Linked DNA regions of Homo sapiens: regions 2 and 3 are each linked to region 1. The links are contacts of gene promoters, found by promoter capture Hi-C in blood cells and fetal thymus (Javierre and others, 2016). All regions are on one chromosome and are shown on one strand. The core of a region is centred on a gene start or on the middle of the fragment in contact, and the rest is flanking DNA. Distances in the headings are between cores, read along the strand shown.

What was found. Contacts are between HindIII fragments. The CHiCAGO score rates a contact against its expected background, and 5 or more counts as called.
Region 2: a fragment that was not itself captured here is called in contact with the fragment with the promoter of TPM3 in region 1 in 9 of 17 cell types (megakaryocytes, naive CD8 T cells, total CD8 T cells and 6 more); the score reaches 11.5 in megakaryocytes.
Region 3: a fragment that was not itself captured here is called in contact with the fragment with the promoter of TPM3 in region 1 in 1 of 17 cell types (M2 macrophages); the score reaches 5.2 in M2 macrophages.

What each region holds. Positions count from the first base shown.
Region 1 is chr1:154,190,528-154,194,573 of GRCh38, forward strand. It overlaps TPM3 (tropomyosin 3), which reads right to left and starts at 1,573. Exons shown (of 10, transcript NM_152263.4): 1 at 1,375-1,573; 2 at 659-784. The coding sequence starts at 1,491. It overlaps MIR190B (microRNA 190b), which reads right to left and starts at 3,216; the gene lies at 3,138-3,216. The HindIII fragment of the contact is 3,875 bases long and covers 710-4,046 here.
Region 2 is chr1:154,348,705-154,352,487 of GRCh38, forward strand. ATP8B2 (ATPase phospholipid transporting 8B2) reads left to right here. Exons shown (of 28, transcript NM_001370597.1): 28 at 136-2,600. The coding sequence ends at 414. Among named protein-coding and RNA genes, the nearest start is that of ATP8B2, 25 kb to the left of the region's middle. RefSeq lists enhancers at 1-610, 611-1,594. The HindIII fragment of the contact is 6,441 bases long and covers 1-3,783 here.
Region 3 is chr1:154,026,988-154,030,585 of GRCh38, forward strand. NUP210L (nucleoporin 210 like) reads right to left here. Exons shown (of 40, transcript NM_207308.3): 28 at 2,909-3,067; 29 at 519-610. Among named protein-coding and RNA genes, the nearest start is that of RPS27, 38 kb to the left of the region's middle. The HindIII fragment of the contact is 2,424 bases long and covers 478-2,901 here.

The sequences.
Region 1 (4,046 bases), core at 323-2,822:
CTCACGGTCATAGAGTGAAGTCTGGTGGTGATACCTTTACCCCCTAAGATTCTTTCTTAGTTTCTATTATACTCTGTCACTGTAGGGATCTCTCTGCTGCCCTAGGAGCAATGCTTCATATGGCATCTCCATGGCATAAAGGCAAATGCCTGCATTGGCCAAGATAAATAAACCCATATATGGCCAGGGTCAGTGTGACCTCCATTTCCCATTGTGAAATCCGAGCTGGTTTTGTTGGACAGTTGAGAGATGAGAGGTTCCCTATTAATACACATATCCACATGCCAAGACTTGGACATAAAAGCTAAGAATGTGGCATGGGGGAGGAGGTAGGATAAGTGACAGCATTCTGAACTTAGAGTCCCCTCTCTTTGTCCAGGTCCTGGGAAAGATAATTAAATTCCTGGGTTGGTGATAGGAGATAAATGAGACCTTTACATGTATTAAAAAAAAACTTTTAACATGTTGGAGATGTCTTTAAGAAAGAAAATACATGCCATTATGAGAATATACCAGCATGTGGTTATATGCAAAAATGTATGTGAGTATATATGTCTGTGTTCCATGAACCCACAAGTGTGTTTGGAATTTCGTCATACATTAACATAAAGATCTATATGTGTAGATTAAACCCATCCTCCATCTCTCTAATACTCACATCAGCAGCCTTCTTCTCTGCCAGTTCCAGCTTCTCCTGGGCATCCTTCAAAGCTTCAGAATACTTGTCCAGCTCATCCTCTGTCCCTTTCAGCTTCTTCTGCATGGCTGCCAGCTCATCCTCCAGCTATAGGAGCCCAGAGAGTCACACACAAAAACACACAAACACAACAATGCAGGGTTGGACCCTGGGCTCTTGGAGCCCTGAGTGTAACCTCCATGTTACCATCCCTAGTGAGACACACTTTCTCCCCAGCCACTTCCAGCCCACTGCCTCAGGAGTTATGCCGTAGCTTGGCCTGTGACCCTGTAATCTCTGATCCTAAGATGACCAAGCCATCCTGGGTTTTCATCCAAGACCCCTGGATGATAAATATCTAAAGTGTAGATGCCCGTGATGCTATTTGAGTGAAAAGAGATGCTCTTTCCCTCTAGAACTCTTACCTTTTCCTCTAGAAGTCAAGGGTTCTTCCAAAACATGGTCCATTTCTACTTAAATTCAGCAGACATACTGTGGCTCACTGACTTTCCCAAGGTCACAAAGGCAGTCTGAGACAGATATGTTAGATATCCTCTGCTCCTCCAGTGAGGCTGGGGAGTCCATCCCACCCCCAAAAAGGAGGTGACACCAGTAGTCACTGTCTTTCCCATGAAAACTCCCTTCCATTTCACAGTCTTGTTCACTAGCAGATGAGAGAGATCAATGCCAGTGCCTACCTGTTTACTTCTTTCTTCTGCCTGCTTCTGCTCAGCTTCAGCTTGCTCTGCCCGATCCAGAGCATTCTCCTTGTCTAACTTCAGCATCTGCATCTTTTTCTTGATGGCCTCCATCATGAGCAGTGGCTGTTGGTAGGCTCACCTGTGAACACTGGAGAACTGGAGACTGGGGCAAGAAAGAAGGGGCTGCTGCCTGAGTGACCAGGAGGTCCCCAGACTTGAGTCTTTATCTGTGCTCATAGCTCCACCTTTTGTTCCTAATATGGTCTTTCCAGCTCCCTCCACCCCATCATTGTTCTCCTGGGGGAACACAGGGTGAGACGCTTTGATGAACTGACATCACCAGCAAAAAAAATATCTAGCAACAGCTGAGGCTGATTTTAGACAATGGAAAGTGGGGGAGGGAAGAGGTTCTCCCTGACCCTGAAACTTTCCACTCATTCTGGGCAGCTCTATGGATGTTTTAAAAGAAGAGGAAGAGGGGAGGGAAGAACATTGAAATAGAGAAGTGTACTTTGGCAATTCTAGGTTGGCAGTTTGCATCCAGGGGGTCCTGGTTGCCTTTCAGCTTCCCGTTTCACTCTCCCCCAGACTGTGTTGAATGCTGGTCAAACTCCGTTAGTTGAGTTTTAGCTTTTGATTCCTGGTATTCAAGGAGCTTGGGCACAGGGAAGAGGGGAGGTCACTCATGATCCTTAACAATTCTCCCAGATCCCCAGATCAAATTGCTGTGCTATTCTGGGAGTCTCCGATTGGCAGGGAGACGTTTTTCCTCCCCACCAAGAGCCACAAGAGTAGAGTAAGAGGTAGGGTTGGAATCTCCAACCCTATCCTTGAAGGCTATCCCAGAGCTTCAAGTGGGGTGGGGAGAGAAACAGGGGAGGGTCAGAACAATCCAGACAGGATCATACCCTTTGTTTTCCCACAGTAATCTTAAAATAGAACTGTTGTACCCACACAGACTTTGGTCTGTGTGGCTCTCTCCTCTTCTTCCCTTTATCTTCTCCCTTCTTAATTCTCCCCAACGCTGCCACTCACCACATCATCGTAATCATCATTATCAGCTCTATTCTTTCCAGTTTAGTTCCAGACCATGTTTATTCTTCCATTGGGAGCCTTGTTACTAACAGGTGGCAAGGATACCAGTCCACTGGCACCATACACCTGAAAATATGCCAAGGGAGAGGTGGGCACTGTTCAAGGTGACCAGATATATTGGACAAATATAAATGGCTCTAGTTAGTCATTTATGTCAGGATACTGAGAGTTAATGCTAAGCCCCAGCAATGGGGGAACGGAGACACCCACCAGGCCAGTGGGTAGAGCAGAGCTGGAGTCCACTATTGAGAGCTTCCAGTCACTAGAGGTAGATAGGCAGATAGACCATCAGCTGACTCTCGACAGAGAGAGGAGAAACCAAGTCTCCTTTCTCTGGAGATTAGCCAGGGAAAGGGGTTAGGGAACAGGGAGAGGAAGGAGTGGAAAATGGGGGGGGGGTGGGCAAGTGAATAAGGGGGAGAAAAATACGAGGACAAGAAAAGGCAAAGAAATGTCCCTTCTAGTATAAGGGGACAAGAAATAGAAAGATTCTATCCTCAAATTCCAACTCTCTCCCATTCCCACACCAGCCCTCTTAGGTTAAGATTGAAATGCACATAGGTTGCAGCTACTGGACTTTTGGGGGGGTCCTGGAGAGAAGAGGTTCAGTAAAAGAGACAGGAGCCCCAGAGATTGAAGTATGAAAGAGGGTGGTGCTGAATCACCTGCTGCTGTAAGAATATGTTTGACATTTAGTTGGTTCCTAATTAAACAACCCAATATCAAACATATCACACAGAAGCAGGCAGGAGAGCTTTGGGGGTCATCTGCCTTCCTTCCAGTTGCAAAGAAAGAATAGAGCAGACACCAGGCACCAATCATGTCTAGGTGGAGAGCCATCTCCTTGAGGAAGGGTACTGGCTCCTGCTCTTCACCTCCCAAGACAGCCAGCTCTTGCTTATTGTCCTACGTGTCATCCCTGCCTCAGCTCCTCCTCTACAAGCTCCTGGCCTTTGCTGGATCACGTTGGCCTAAACCAGGAAGAATACCTGGCAGGGCTCCACATCCGGGCAACTATCGTTCCCTAGAGCTCCCACACAGAGCTTCTCACCCTGATGTCACGGCCCCAGCGCCCAGAGGATCAGCCGTGTCAGCAGCTCCTCATCAAAATTGCCACCTGCTCTCTTCAATGCCATTCCAGCTGCCCTGAGGCTTTCCGGGGTGGGGGCAGAGGACTTGTACACCCTGCTTTACCTTTCCAACAGAACTCCTAACCTTCCCAGATCACCCCCACAAGACTACTGAGGTCCGTTCAGGAGGCACCATCCTGGCACCGTCCTGCTCTTAAGTGCTGCAGATGCTTGGCTTCCCCTTTCTGCCAGCTTAACCCTTCTCACCTTCTCCCCATGTCCTCCAGGCATCCTCCTTAAAGTCACCCTTGGATGTCCAGAACAGAAGAATAACTTGTCTCCCTGGCAGGCTCCATCGTGGGCTCCAGAAGAGAAGACTTATAGTTCCCCACCTTGCCTGGCAGAATTGAAACTAAGGCTTTAGACTGAGGGTAAGAGAGGAAACTTCTGCCAGGAAGCAGCCTGCAGTCCACAGGAGTCCTCTCCTCTTCTAGGGCTTTTTAC
Region 2 (3,783 bases), core at 747-3,246, 160 kb after region 1:
CGTCAGCCTGGTCCCAGGTGCTGTGGGTCGGAGGCCTCTGTGTCAGCCTGGTCCCGGGTGCTGTGGGTCCCTTCTCCTTGGCGATATCTGACACCTCCACGCTGACAGAGGGCTCTTCCCTGTGCCCCTCTGCAGGTCCGCTACACACAGCTCGTGAGGAAGAAGCAGAAGGCCCAGCACCGCTGCATGCGGCGGGTTGGCCGCACTGGCTCCCGGCGCTCCGGCTATGCCTTCTCCCATCAGGAGGGCTTCGGGGAGCTCATCATGTCTGGCAAGAACATGCGGCTGAGCTCTCTCGCGCTCTCCAGCTTCACCACCCGCTCCAGCTCCAGCTGGATTGAGAGCCTGCGCAGGAAGAAGAGTGACAGTGCCAGTAGCCCCAGTGGCGGTGCCGACAAGCCCCTCAAGGGCTGAAGGCCGAGGATGGATGCCCTGTGCCAGTGACCAGAGCACCCAGGGCTGGCCAGTCACTGAGGGAACAGCGTCTCGGAACTGCTGGTCCTCATTCCTTGCTTCCCGTCCCCCCGGTAGACTCTGTCCTGCTGGTCCCACCACACATGGCTGGGACATCTGTTCCCAGCTGTAGGCCCTTCCACCAGCTGGGGAGCTAGAGGGAGCAGGCCCAAGGGCAGAGCAGAGGCTGAGGCACGGGGAGCCAGCCCCACTCGGGGACCAGAAGTGGAACCAAAAACAAGAAAAAACTGTGAGAGATTGTGTCTGCCCCTGCCCTGCCTGGGACCCACAGGGAGACTATAATCTCCTTATTTTTTTACTCCTACTCCCCAGAGGGGCCCTAGTGCCTCTGTTCCTGAATTACATAAGAATGTACCATGCCGGGAAGCCAGAGACCTGCAGGGGCCTCGGCCCCTCACATCGTGTATGTCTCTCCTTGATTTGTGTTGTGTCCAGTTTGGTTTTGTCTTTTTTTATTTGGCAAGTGGAGGAGGCTTTTATGTGACTTTTATGTTGTGGTTGGTGTCTTAACTCTCCTGGGAAAAGGAGGCTGGCACACACTGGGATGCCGCAGCCTGGCCGGCTGTGGGGTGGTTTGGGAGGATCCATGTCGGCTCTGCCTGCAGTGACCAGTGCTCTGTGGGGCAGAGGAGCTGACCAGGGAGGGAGGTACCCATGAGCAGAGGGTAGTGGGAGAGTGTAAAGGAGGGTTTGGTCCTGTCTGCTTCCTCACCTTGAGAGTAAAGTGCTGCCCTCTGCCCCCAACACACACACATATCAATTCCTGGATTCCTTAGTCCTGCTGGCCTTGGGCTGGAGCCTAGGAAAGTGGCCCCCAAATCCTTAGTGAGCTAAAGCTGGGTCTGAAATTTGGTCAGTGGGGAGGGGTAGTTTTCTTTTCTTTTTTCTTTTTCTTTTTTTCTTTTTTTTTTTGAGATGGAGTCTCACTCTTGTCACCTAGGCAAGAGTGCAATGGCACAATCTCAGCTCACTGCAACCTCCACCTCCTGGGTTCAAGCGATTCTCCTGCCTCAGCCTCCTGAGTAGCTGGGATTACAGGCACACACCACCACGCTTGGTTAATTTTTGTATTTTTAGTAGAGATGTTTCACCATGTTGGCCAGGCTAGTCTTGAATTCCTGACCTCCTGACCTGCCCACCTCAACCTCCCAAAGTGCTGAGATTACAGGCGTGAGCCACCACACCCAGCTCAGGGAGGCGTAGTTTTCTTTAATTTTAAATTTAAACCCAAGTTTATTGGCAGACTCCCTTTTGACCTCCCTTTGCCTCCCCATCTGGTGCTTTCTTGCATCTACACCCCAGGGCCCTGTGGTGGGGCTGCAGGGGGAAGCTGTGCACCTGAGATGAGGCTGGAACGGGAATTGGCCTCTCTGCTCCCTTCTTCAGTAAGCAAGGAGCCCCGCCCCTCAGGCCCAGCCTCTGGCAAGAGGTGGTGGAATCCTTGTGCCGGGTAGTAGAGGAGGATAAGGGCAAAACCAGGCCCAGGCCAGTGCCTGGCTTGGTCTGGATGGGACACTGTCAGAGTTTGGCCACAGCCTGTCCTTTACTTCATCCACACCTATGAAGCTATTCCCTAAATAAGGCATTTCCCAAGTTAGTCGCTACCTAATCAGCCTTGAGAAGAATCCTTTCCTCTTCTTTGATAGTGGGTCGGGGGATTCTTCAGGAATGGTTTGGAGCTGGGAGTGGGTAGGGGGATTTTAAATGTTCCATATGGGAGCCCCAAAGGAACTGGATGGGCTGCAGTGAGGTGGGGGCGGGTGGGCAGGGAATGGGAGAGGGGAAGTCTTGGCAGGGAAATCCCTTTTGGCCACACAGTTTACAAACCCAGTATCATGTCTGTCTGTGTGTCTCTCAAGGTGAGAGTCTGATTTTTATACCAAAGAGGAAATGATTTTTTTTCATATTTTGTTTGTCTATATTATATAAATATATATATACAGTTATATATATATATATTATTTTTTGGTTCTCTCTCGTTTTTTAGGGAGGGAAGAAAGTACCAAGTTGCATTGAGCTGTAATTAAGGAACATTATAATTTATGACACATTTCTATACTTGCAAAAATTATATCATTTTATGGATATAAGAGAAAAATGCCTTTTTATAAAATTTCAATTTCTGAGAAGTGTGTAATTTGTCTCTTTTCTGATGTTTAACCAAGACTGGTGGTGAAAGTAAAGACAGAAACTGTCTCTTAAATGTAATTGAGTGGGTAGATCTGGGATATCTTGGACAAATTGGAATCTGACTGGTGTGGGATAGCACCTCATCCATTTGCAGACCTCCCGGGATCTGAGTTTCAGCTGAAGATGAAGACGGGGCAGTGGGTGGTACTGAGCGGCATATCGTATGGACTTTGGCTGGGTGCCTAGGACCTTGAGCTGTTTACCTTTCTCCAAACGCAGGCCAACCTGTCATCCCTAACACACGCCAGATGGATGTGTGTGTAGGGAAAGTACCTGGTAAATATTGTAAGGTTTTGTTTTTTAACTCTGCGCTTTTCCGCATGCCTCACATCTTCCTGGCTTCTCAAGTGAGTATCAAGGAAGCTAAAGTCTTATATTAAAGGGAGCTTTCCTCCAGGGAAGGGAGGGCGGATGAGGATGGGGTCCTAGGAGTCAGGGCCAGGGTTAGTGCTGGCCTGAGGAGAAAGAAGTATAGCTTCCTCCGCCGATGGCCAATATCAGCATGATCCAGCCCCACCCGCAGGCTAATTTCCCCCTGACCCAGCCAGTCTTCAGTTATGGAACAATCCTTCTCAAAAACGTAGACTGGGTGTGGTGGCTCAATGCCTGTAATCCCAGCATTTTGCGAGGCTGAGGCAGGAGGATCACTTGAGCCCAGCCCAGGAGTTCAAGACCAGCCTGGGCAACATGGGGAGACCCCGCCTGTATTAAAAAAAAAAAAAAAAAGGGTGGGGGAGCGGAGGGTGTATGGGGGGAAGATGTGAAGATAAGATCTGTTTCCCTCTTCAGGAGAAACGGCCCCTGGCGGGAATCCCGCCACAGACCGCCAGGAACACCACCTGACACCCACCTCCACCCAGGGAGAGGCTGTCCAGTCCACACAAGCCTTTCTTTGGGGTCTGTCTGGAACCCTGAGCTTTGGGCAGCAAGTGGCATCTGGCTTCAGTGCCCCCACCCCCGAAACACAGAAAGAAGCCTTAATCCCTTGAGGCTGGTGAGGCCCCAAGTCCACCCCTCCCACAAGACAGGTCTTCAGCACTGCGCTGGCCTCCCGTTGGGGGTCTGTTCAGCCACTGGGAATGTCTTCCTTGGCTCCTCTCGCTGACCCTGGCTCTCCTG
Region 3 (3,598 bases), core at 440-2,939, 160 kb before region 1:
CAGGAGAATTGCCTGAACCTGGGAGGTGGAGGTTGCAGTGAGCTGAGATTGTGCCACTGTGCGCTGGCCTGGGCAACAGAGCGAGACTGTCTCAAAAAAAAAAAAAAAACAAAAAAAAAAAAACAAAAAACACAAAACGTTGCATACTGTATGATTCCATTTATATGAAATACATTCAGGATAGCTAATACCGTACACAGAAAGCAGATTAGTGATTGCCAGGGGCTGCGAGGAGGAAAGAAAGAAGAGTGACTGCTTCACAGGTATGGGATCTCCTTTGGTGGTGATAAAAATATTTGGAACTAGATAGAGATGCTGAATACACAATATTGTGAATGTACTAAATGCCACTGAATTTTACACTTTACAATAGTTTTACATTATGGGAATTTCACCTCACACAAAAAATTATTTGGGAAAAATCTCCTAGAAGGCAAAAGTGTTCTTTCTATGTCAATGTTTTACTGAAAATACTTAAGCTTAGATCCTGGCACTTCCTTATTCTCCCTTTTCCTTACCTGTTGGTATGGAGTTTGAGCTGAGAATTTATAGGCATCAGAATCTGCTCTGGTTGGCACTCTGGATAGAAGAGTTGGAGTTTTTCAAACACCTATAATGAGAAAATGTTTTCCTCATTTTTGGCAAAGACAAATTATGACTTTTACTTACATATAGACTTCAGTATAATCCCGAAGAGATTACATGCAAATAAATGACAACTACGAATCAACAGTCTGCCTAACTTCTAATTAGTCTAAAATCGTCCACAATACTCCTCTCCAAAATGAACCAGGCACTCAAAACGTAACTAGATATTCTAGAAGATATAACCTAATGTTAGCCCTGTTTCTGACTCTGAGGGACTCAGCATGTAGCAAAGTTTACACTTACCACATCTTCCATATTGCTTAGATATTAGGTATAAAAATACTTTGAAATTTCTAATTTTGGCTCTGGTAAAATGACATGAAGTTTGGGGAAAAGAACTTATAATATTAAATTAGCATGAAATAACATCCAGGTCTTCCACCTTCTAGTAAAGTGCTCCTTCCTCTACTTCACATGGAATCAGAGAACCAAAGCCAAAATAAAGGAAAAAATAAAACAGGAAAAGAAAAAAAAAGTCTCAAAATCAGAGGCAGTGAAACTTACTCGACCCATATAAGTGATAATTTGTTTTTTGAATTCTAAAAACAACAGAGCCATTTAGCTTTTAGCCCAAGAATATCTGTAGAAACTATTCATACTCTTACACCTTATCAAAAGTTAGAATTATGTTTTATCCTAACTGTGAATATATTTAAATGGACTTATATCGGCTGGACGCGGTGGCTCATACCTGTAATCCCAGCACTTTGGGAGACCAAGACGGGCAGATTACCTGAGGTTAGGAGTTTGAGACCAGCCTGGTCAACATAACGAAACTCCATCTCTACTAAAAATACAAAAAGTAGCCAGGCATGGTGGCGCATGCCTGTAATCTCAGGTACTCAGGAGGCTGAGGCAGGAGAATCACTTGTACTTGGGAGGTGGAGGTTGCAGTGAGGCGAGATCATGCTACTGCACTCCAGCCTAAGCAACAGAGTGAAACTCTGTCTCAAAATAAATAAATAATTAAATAAAAATTGTTAATGGACTTATAATATCTATGTCAGGTGGAGTGGATCAGAAATGAATCCCTCTCTAGTTACTATGGTGTTCATATCCTGTGTTCCTGATATGGGGAGTTGAAGGGAGTGTGTGTGCTACAGTTTCTTTTCTTTTTTTTTCCAGACTACTCACCTGCAAGTACTAATAGTTTCTAATGTTAATAGTATATAAAAGCAGCCGGGCGTGGTAGCTCACGTCTGTAATCCTAGCACTTTGGGAGGCCAAGGCGGGTGGATCACTTGAGGTTAGGAGTTTGAGACCAGCCTGGACAACGTGGCGAAACCCCGTCTCTACTAAAAATACAAAAATTAGCCGGGCATGGTGGTGCACGCCTGTAATCCCAGCTACTCGGGAGGCTGAGGCAGGGAGAATTACCTGAACGCTGCAGTGAGTGGAGATTGTGCCACTGCACTCCAGCCTGGGTGACAGAGTGAGACTCTGTCTCAAAAACAAAAAACAAGCCAGGCATGGTGGCTCACACCTGTAATCCCAGCACTTTGGGAGGCTGAGGCGGGCAGATCACGAGGTCAGGAGATCGAGACCATCCTGGCTAACACAGTGAAACCCTGTCTCTACTAAAAATACAAAAAATTAGCCGGGCATGGTGGCAGGCACCTGTAGTCCCAGCTACTTGGGAGAATGAGGCAGGAGAATGGTGTGAACCTGGGAGGAGGAGCTTGCAGTGAGCCAAGATCACACCACTGCACTCCAGCCTGGGCAACAGAGCAAGACTGTCTCAAAAAAAAAAAAAAAAAAAAAAAAAACCACAAAAAAACAAAAAACAGGCCAGGCACAGTGGCTCACGCCTGTAATCCCAGCACTTTGGGAGGCCGAGGCAGGAGGATCACTTGAGGTCAGGAGTTTCAGACCAGCCTGACCAACATGGAGAAACCCCGTCTCTACTAAAATTACAAAATTAGCTGGGCTTGGTGGCACATGCTACTCGGGAGGCTGAGGCAGGAGAATTACTTGAACGCAGGAGATGGAGGTTGTGGTGAGCCGAGATTGTGCCATTGCACTCCAGCCTTGGCAACAAGAGCGAAACTCCGTCTCAAAACAAAACAAAACAAAAACAAAAAACAAAACTATATACAAGCAATTAGCAGGAATTATAAAGATCTAGGAAGTACAAACCTGTTCCAGGAATCGCTCTAACAATTATCTGTCTCTATCCAGACTAAGCTCTTTGTTGATGGTAAGAGAATATAACTTTCTTATCCTTAATATACGAAAATAAGATTTAGATTTGGAAGCTTACCAGGATCTGTACTTCATCAGAGAGTTCCAACAAATTCCCCTCAAACTGCCCAGAGGAACTGTTCATGCAGTGAACAGTGACCTTGATACTGGTCCTGCCTGCTGCTTTTGTATGGACAACCATGGCAAAGTTATGCTCTACTGGGAGCTGTAGAAAAACCTAGACAGTGAAGGGATAGATTAAGAAATATTCATCAATAAACATGGTGTCCTTCCTTTTTTTTTCACTTTTTTAATATTAAATTTTTTTTTAAATTAAAAATAAAAAGTCAGGAAAGGGTGGGAGGGGGCGAGGGATAGAAGACTACAAATAGGGAGCAGTGTATACTGCTTGGGTGATGGGTGCACCAAAATCTCACAAATCACCACTAAAGGGCTTACTCATGTAACCAAATACCACCTGTACCCCAATAACTTATGAAAAAATTAAAATTAAAAATTCACTCAGCCTGGAGTGCAGTGGAACAATCTCAGCTCACTGCAGCCTCGACCTCCCGGGCTCCAGTGATCCTCCCACCTCACTCTCCCTAGTAGCTGGGACTACAGGGGCACACCACCACACTCAGCTAATTTTTGTCTTTTTTGTAGACATGGGGTTTCGCCATGTTGCTCAGGCTGGTCTTGAACTCGTGGCCTCAAGCGATCTGCCCACCTCAGCCTCTCAAAGTGCTGGGATTACAGTTAATTTTTT